Regions from separate parts of the Homo sapiens genome. Here region 1 is linked to region 2. The links are contacts of gene promoters, found by promoter capture Hi-C in blood cells and fetal thymus (Javierre and others, 2016). All regions are on one chromosome and are shown on one strand. The core of a region is centred on a gene start or on the middle of the fragment in contact, and the rest is flanking DNA. Distances in the headings are between cores, read along the strand shown. Region 1 overlaps LRIG2 (leucine rich repeats and immunoglobulin like domains 2). Region 2 holds the start of BCL2L15 (BCL2 like 15).

What was found. Contacts are between HindIII fragments. The CHiCAGO score rates a contact against its expected background, and 5 or more counts as called.
Region 1: a fragment that was not itself captured here is called in contact with the fragment with the promoter of BCL2L15 in region 2 in 1 of 17 cell types (erythroblasts); the score reaches 5.7 in erythroblasts.

Annotation. Positions count from the first base shown.
Region 1 is chr1:113,116,759-113,120,354 of GRCh38, forward strand. It overlaps LRIG2 (leucine rich repeats and immunoglobulin like domains 2), which reads left to right. Exons shown (of 18, transcript NM_014813.3): 17 at 2,475-2,765. Among named protein-coding and RNA genes, the nearest start is that of LRIG2, 45 kb to the left of the region's middle. The HindIII fragment of the contact is 1,406 bases long and covers 1,622-3,027 here.
Region 2 is chr1:113,885,437-113,889,171 of GRCh38, forward strand. BCL2L15 (BCL2 like 15) reads right to left here and starts at 2,145. Exons shown (of 4, transcript NM_001010922.3): 1 at 1,813-2,145; 2 at 1,101-1,222. The coding sequence starts at 1,939. The region is part of intron 3 of AP4B1-AS1 (AP4B1 antisense RNA 1); the gene reads left to right. The HindIII fragment of the contact is 1,067 bases long and covers 1,421-2,487 here.

The DNA of each region.
Region 1 (3,596 bases), core at 1,075-3,574, 770 kb before region 2:
CAGACCACATCCAAGGGAGGCTGGTTTCTCTTCCTGACAGGTAGACATTCAGTAAAGTTTAAAGGGTAGCTAGGAGCCAGGCATGGTGGCATGCCTGTAGTCCCATCTACCCACGAGGCTGAAGCAGGATTACTTGAGGCCAGGAGTTCGAGGCTGTATTGTGCTGTGAGTGCACCTATGAATAGCCACTGTACTCTAGCCTGGACAACATAGCAAGACTCCCCACCTCTAAAAGAAATCAACAAATGGTAGCAATGGTTCTCAGCATATACTGGAGAACATCAGAGAGATGTAAAGAGTTCCCTAATTAAATGAACCTGACATCCCAACACGTAGAGATGCGTACCCATACACAGAGTTCTTCTCCCTCCACCCTTTTCATAGCCTCGCTCCCATAGGGAGTGACAGAACTGAATGAATTAAGGGACAGAAGAATTGGGTTTAATTGATACTTCTTCCTTTTTCCAGCTCTGTGACCATGAAGCTAGTTACTTAAGATCTGAGCTTTACTTTTCTAATTTTTAAATAAAGAGACAATAATTTGTAAAGCACTTCCCCCAAGATTCTCACAGATCTTTTCAGCAAATCTGTGTGGTACTTCAAATACTATACAAATGGAAGATTTATTCCATTTCTTCAGAGACTTTTTTAGGCTGGGTGTCAACAGAACTTTATCTAATTGATAAATTGGATTTTGGCTTTTCATGAAAAATATAGTAGTTCTGACTCTTTTTTTTGTTTTTGAGAAAGCGTCTCATTCTGTTACCCAGGCTGGAGTGCAGTGGCACGATCTCAGCTCACTGCAACCTCCACCTCCCAGGTTCAAGCGATTCCTCTGCCTCAGCCTCCTAAGTAGCTGGGATTACAGGTGCGTGCCACCATACCCGGCTAATTTTTGTATTTTTAGTAGAGACGGGTTTCACCATGTTGGTCAGGCTGGTCTTGAACTGCTGACCTTGTGATCTGCCTGCCTCAGCCTCCCAAAGTGCTGGGATTACAGGCATGAGCCACCGCACCTGGCTGGCATTTCTGACTTTTAAAAGAATACTTAAAAGTCTGTTCTTTGAAGTATGTGGGAAATAACACTGCTTTCTGGGTTAAACTAAATTACTTTTCACTCTCTTCCAATTCTAACATTCTGTTGCATGATTTTTTTTTGTTTGTTTTTTGGTTTTTTTGAGACAGAGTTTCATTCTTGTCACCCAGGCTGGAGTGCAATGGCACCATCTCAGCTCACTGTAACCTTTGCCTCCCCGGTTCAAGCGATTCTCCTGCCTCAGCCTCCTGAGTAGCTGGGATTACAGGCACCTGTCACCATGCCCGGCTTATTTTGTATTTTTAGTAGAGATGGGGTTTCACCATATTGGCCAGGCTGGTCTCAAACTTCGGACCTCAGGTGATCCACCTGCCTCGGCCTCCCCAAGTGCTGGGCTTACAGGCATGAGCCACTGCTCCTGGCCTGTTGCATGATTTTGAATAAGTAACTCACTCTTTATTTCTCACTCTCTCTTCTCTCCTTCATCATTCAGTTTTCAAAGCACATAATAATCCAGGGAGTTCATTGTTAAACCTATACTTCTGTCAACCATGTACTTGTCAGGCAGGACTTCTCATTGTCAGAAGCTTTCCCTAGGGATGCTTGTAGCAATTGGTGTTACTTAACCTCTTGACTCATTAAAGTAACATGGTTTTTCATGAAGTGAAGTCATCATAACTCCTTATTCTCTGACTTAGTTTGCTTAAGCCAAGCATGTGTCTTGTAGCACAGTACCAGCCTTATCTTGCTCCCTTGATTTGGGCATGATCTGTCTATCCACAATAGACAGAGATGGTTCAGTGTAGTTTTCAAGAGCATGGGCTCTGGAGCCAGAATGGCTGTTTCTGCTCCTCACTCTGGCAGTATGACTTTGTTTTTTTTTTTTTGGAGACAGAGTCTCGCTGTGTCGCCCAGGCTGGAGTGCAGTGGCGTGATCTCGGCTCACTGCAAGCTCCGCCTCCCGGGTTCACGCCATCTTCCTGCCTCAGCCTCCCGAGTAGCTGGGACTACCGGTGCACGCCACCACGCCTGGCTAATTTTTTGTATTTTTAGTAGAGATGGGGTTTCACCGTGTTAGCCAGGATGGTCTAGATCTCCTTACCTTGTGATCTGCCCGCCTCGGCCTCCCAAAGTGCTGGGATTACAGGCGTGAGCCACCGCACCCGGTAGCGGTATGACTTTGGTTAAGTTACTTAACTTCTCTGTGCTTTAGTTTACCCTATCTGTAAAGTGGGGATAATAATAATACCTACCTCATAGGGATGTTGTGAGGATTAATGAATCAATTCACAGAAATGGCTTGAAACTTCACCTACTTTATAAAGTAAGTGCTCAATACATGCTAGCAATGATGATGACAACTTTTGAAGAAAACTGACGATTGGCAAAAAATAATTCCTTAACAGAAAGATATTTAGATTCTTTTTCTTGTTATTAGGTGGCACTGGTACCCGGGTGATTTGCTCAGATTGTTATGACAATGCCAACATCTACTCCAGGACCCGAGAATACTGTCCATACACCTATATTGCTGAGGAGGACGTTCTTGATCAGACACTGTCCAGCCTCATGGTCCAAATGCCTAAAGAGACATATTTAGTACATCCTCCCCAGGATACTACTGCCCTAGAGAGCCTGATACCGTCAGCCAACAGAGAGCCATCTGCCTTTCCCACCAACCATGAGAGGATAAGTGAGAAGAAACTTCCCTCCACACAGATGAGCGGTGGTAAGGGATGTATTTTTGTTGTTATTTTGTTTTTACTTTCGTCTAATTGACTCTTCCTTCTATCATATAGGTAGTGCTCTCATTTGACAGGAAGCAAGCAGATGGGTATATAGGAGTAACTGGCCATTGTTAAATGGTATAAACTATAGCCAGAGATTTCTGCATACTAGAGTTACAAAGAAGTCTTCATCTATAGGATGGAAACAACTTTTGTGGGGGTAACAGGATCACACTACTGAAAATTCAGAGGCCATACACAAAAAGCTTTTAAAAGGTTTCATACAGGCTATTTATTTATTTATTTGAGACAGAGTATCACTGTGTCATCCAGGTTGGAATGTAGTGGTGCAATCTTGGCTCATGCCAACCTCTGCCTCCCTGGTTCAAGCAATTCTCATGCCTCAGCCTCCCAAGAAGCTGGGACTACAGGCGTGCACCACCACACCCAGCTAATTTTTGTATTTTTAGTAGAGGTGGGGTTTAACCATGTTGGCCAGGCTGGTCATGAACTCCTGACCTCATGTGATTGCCTGCCTTGGCCTCCCAAAGTGCTGAGATTACAGGTGTGAGCCACCGCACCCGGTATCATATAGGGTATTAATTTTTCTCCGATCTTTATTTAAATAAAAGAATAAAATATGGGGGGCCGGGCACAGTGGCTCACGCCTGTAATCTTAGCACTTTCGGAGGCCAAAGCAGGTGGATCATTTGAGGTCAGGAGTTTGAGACCAGCCTGGCCAACATAGGGAAACCCTGTCTCCACTAAAAATACAAAAATTAGCCTAACATGGTGGTGCATGCCTGTAGTCCCACCTACTCGGGAAGCTGAGG
Region 2 (3,735 bases), core at 895-3,394:
TTTGAGACAGAGTCTTGCTCTGTCGCCAAGGCTGGAGAACAGTGGTGTGATCTTGGCTCGCTGCAACCTCCACCTCCCGGGTTCAAGCGATTCTCCTGCCTCAGTCTCTCAAGTAGCTGGGATTACAGGCATGGGCCATCACACCCAGCTAAGTTTTGTATTTTTGGTAGAGACAGGGATTCTCCATGTTGGCCAGGCTGGTGTTGAACTCCTCACATCAAGTGATCCGCCCGGCTAATTTTTGTATTTTTAGGTAGAGACGGGGTTTCACCATTTTGGCCATGCTGGTCTGGAACTCCTGACCTCAGGTGATCCGCCCAGATGGGCCAGGCGCGGTGGCTCACCCCTGTAGTCCCAGGTACTTGGGAGGCTGAGGCAGGAGAATTGCTTGAACCCGGTGGGTGGAGGTTGCAGTGAGCCGAGATCGCGCCACTGCACTCCAGCCTGGGTGTGACAGAGTGAGACTCCATCTCAAAAAAAAAAAGCATAGGCTGGGTGTGGTAGCTCACGCCTATAATCCCAGCACTTTGGGAGGCCGAGGTGAGTGGATCACCTGAGCTTAGGCATTCAAGACCAGCCCGGGCAACATGGCAAAAACCCATCTTTACTAAAAATAAAAAAATAAAAAAAATAGATGGGCATGGTAGCACTTGCCTGAAGTCCCAGCTACTCAGGAGGCTGCAGTGGGAGGATCGCTTGAGCCCAGGAGGTGGAGGCTGCAGTGAGCTGAGATCACACCACTGCACTTGAGCCTGGGTGACACAGTAAGACCCTGTCTGAAAAAAAAAAAAAAAAAAAAGATACTATACTTTGCCAAGAATAAAGTGTTATAAATGTGCTCTGTGCACACTAAGCACAACAGCTGTGATGAAGACCAAGTAGAGACAAACTGAAGGTTCATCAGCCTATGCCCAAAATTTTCCATCTCTGTACCACTTAGGTTTTAGCAATTGGAGAATTCTTGCTATACTTCCTTGAAATATAAGCACCCAAATATTTTCATAGAACATTCCTAGTCACTGTAGTATGGGAGTAGTAAGAAAAGGAAGTTTGAAATAGAAAAAAAAGCAGCAAACAATAGCATGAAGTAGAAACTTGACCTGTCCCTTAATGGTTTCTGCAATGACGTTTTTGGCAGAAGCTTCCAATTCTCCGTTGAACTGGTCACCCAACATCCGAAGGCGACCAGCAATGATAGCCACATCAAAAGAACAAGGCTCTCCTATGACAGAGGGAACACATTTGTTACAATGCTTGAAGCAATGGCAAGTCCCAGGAATCTGGGCAATGAGAAAAATTTGTCTTGTCTTTTAAATAATTTTCATATCATGATCTCCCAAGAGCTTAAATGTTCTGTCAACACCAATAGTCAGAAAGTTTCCCTTCATTGAGAACCTCTTTCGCTTTAGGTGTTACTGAAAGCTTAGAGTTTGCCTTTTGAAACTTAAAGGAAATAAATAAAATATACTGTTTTTTTTTTTTTGAGACCGAGTCTCTGTCGCCCAGACTGGAGTGCAGTGGCGTGATCTCAGCTCACTGCAACCTCCGCCTCCCAGGTTCAAGCAATTCTCATGCCTCAGTCTCCCATGTAGCTGGGACTGCAGGCATGAGCCACCACACCTGGCTAATTTTTCTACTTTTAGTAGAGATGGGGTTTCACCACGTTGGCCAGGCGGATCTCAAACCCCTGACTTCAGGTGATCCACCCACCTTGGCCTCCCAAAGTGCTGGGATTACGGGAATCAGTCACTGCGCCCGGCTGAAAACATACTCTTATTGACCTGCAATCACCGCCTAGGGCAGGAACCTTACCTGAATCTACTTCATCTACACAGCATAGGTTCCGGCTGGCAACCTGCAATGTTGGGCTCAAGAAGTCCATGAGTAGAGTGTTCACAATGCATTCCGTTTGTTCCTCAAAAGTTTGGGAGCTCTTCATTTTAGATGTTTGCTGTCAAGTTTTGCTTTTCCACGAAACAAGCAGTTTTCAGCCCAGCAGGAAGTTAAAAACACTGGTAAATCAACAAATGTTTCTACCTCTTGTAGTTTCCTGACATGTAATCCTGGAACTTTTCCCACTAGCTTTCTTCAAACACAGCTGCTCAGAAAGGTGGGACTTCTCAGAAGGATTACCTACTTGGAACTGGGGAGACTTTAAAGACTTTAGGTTCTCTATCTCAGACCACACCCTAACCACATAAAATTAATGCTTAACTTTTATCGTTAGGTAGCCAACCTAGAACTGAAATAGAGTTCAGGAAGAGCCTCTGGAGTAATTTTATTAAGAAATACTTCCTCGACTTCTTAGGTCCTGCACATGGTATAATTTGAAGGAAGGTTTTGAAGTTACAGTGGACCAGCGTTCAACTTCTGTTTATGGAATTTATTTGCCATAATCATATAATAATTACTTACTGAACAAGGAACTATAGTTGGCACTACAAGTAACATAGAAAAATGATACAGGCACAGTTACTGTGCTCATGAAGCTTACACTTCAGCAGAAATGACAGATATTAAATGAGTAATCGCATTGTTATTTGTGCTATTGAGATCAGTGCACTTTGATCAGTGAAGTGTAACAGGGAATCAAGCCTTTGATCAGTTTAATAGGGAAACAAACCTAGGGGACTGGGAAGGCTTCCTTAAAATAGTACCATCTGACATGAGCTCTGAGGAATAAGTAGGCATTCATTATGCAAAAAGGAGGCATAACACTATTCTAGGCGGAGAGGTAGCAGATATAAAGTCTGGGAAGGTTAAAAAAAAACAACTTGGAATTATAAATGGGGACAACAGAAAATATTTCATAGATAAATTATGAGGATTAAATAAGATAACATGCGGAATGGCCTAGCACTGTTTGGCATACAATAAATGTTAAATGTCCTCCTTTTAGCCCAAGACATAATGACCAGGAGGAAAGAGATCTGAGATTCTCTGTCTAGCAAAAGGATTTTCCTAACAGGGTTGGACTCCATCATTGTTTTAAGAGATCTCATGATTGGACACTTATCTGTAGTGGTTGCCTTCTTAACGTAGCTAAACCTAGATTTTGGGTCTGGGTCTCAGAAGCAGCCATCAAACCTATCAGCAAACTTACCACTCAACCTGTCTGACCTGGTGAAGTTATTAATATTAACAGCTCCAACTAATAAAAGAGTCAAGCATAGGCCGGGCATGGTGGCTCATACCTGTAATCCCAGCACTTTTGGGAGGCTGAGGCGGGCAGATAACCGGAGGTCAGGAGTTCACGACCAGCCTGGCCAACATGGCAAAACCCATCTCTACTAAAAAATACAAAAATGAACTGGGCGTGGTGGTGCATGCCTGTAATCCCAGCTACTAAGGAGGCTGAGGCATGAGAATCGCTTGAACCTGGGAGGCGGAGGTTGCGATGAGTCGATATTACGCCACTGCACTCCAGCCTGGGTGACAGAGCAAGACTCTGTCTCCAAAAAAAAAAAAAACAAAAAAAGATTCAAGCATAAACAGTAAGTCAGTTGTTCAGAATGGAATTTCTATCTTGCAAAATATCAAAGCCAATCTTGTGTTTTCTGTTCCATTCTAAAACACATACAACCACTGCACACCTATTAAAATGGCCAAAATCCAGAACACTGGCAAAACCAAATGCTGGTGAGGATGTGGGTCAGGAACTGTCATTCATTGCTGGTAGGAATGCAAAATGGTACAGCCACTTTGGAAGAGTTTAGCAGTTTCTCACAAAACTAA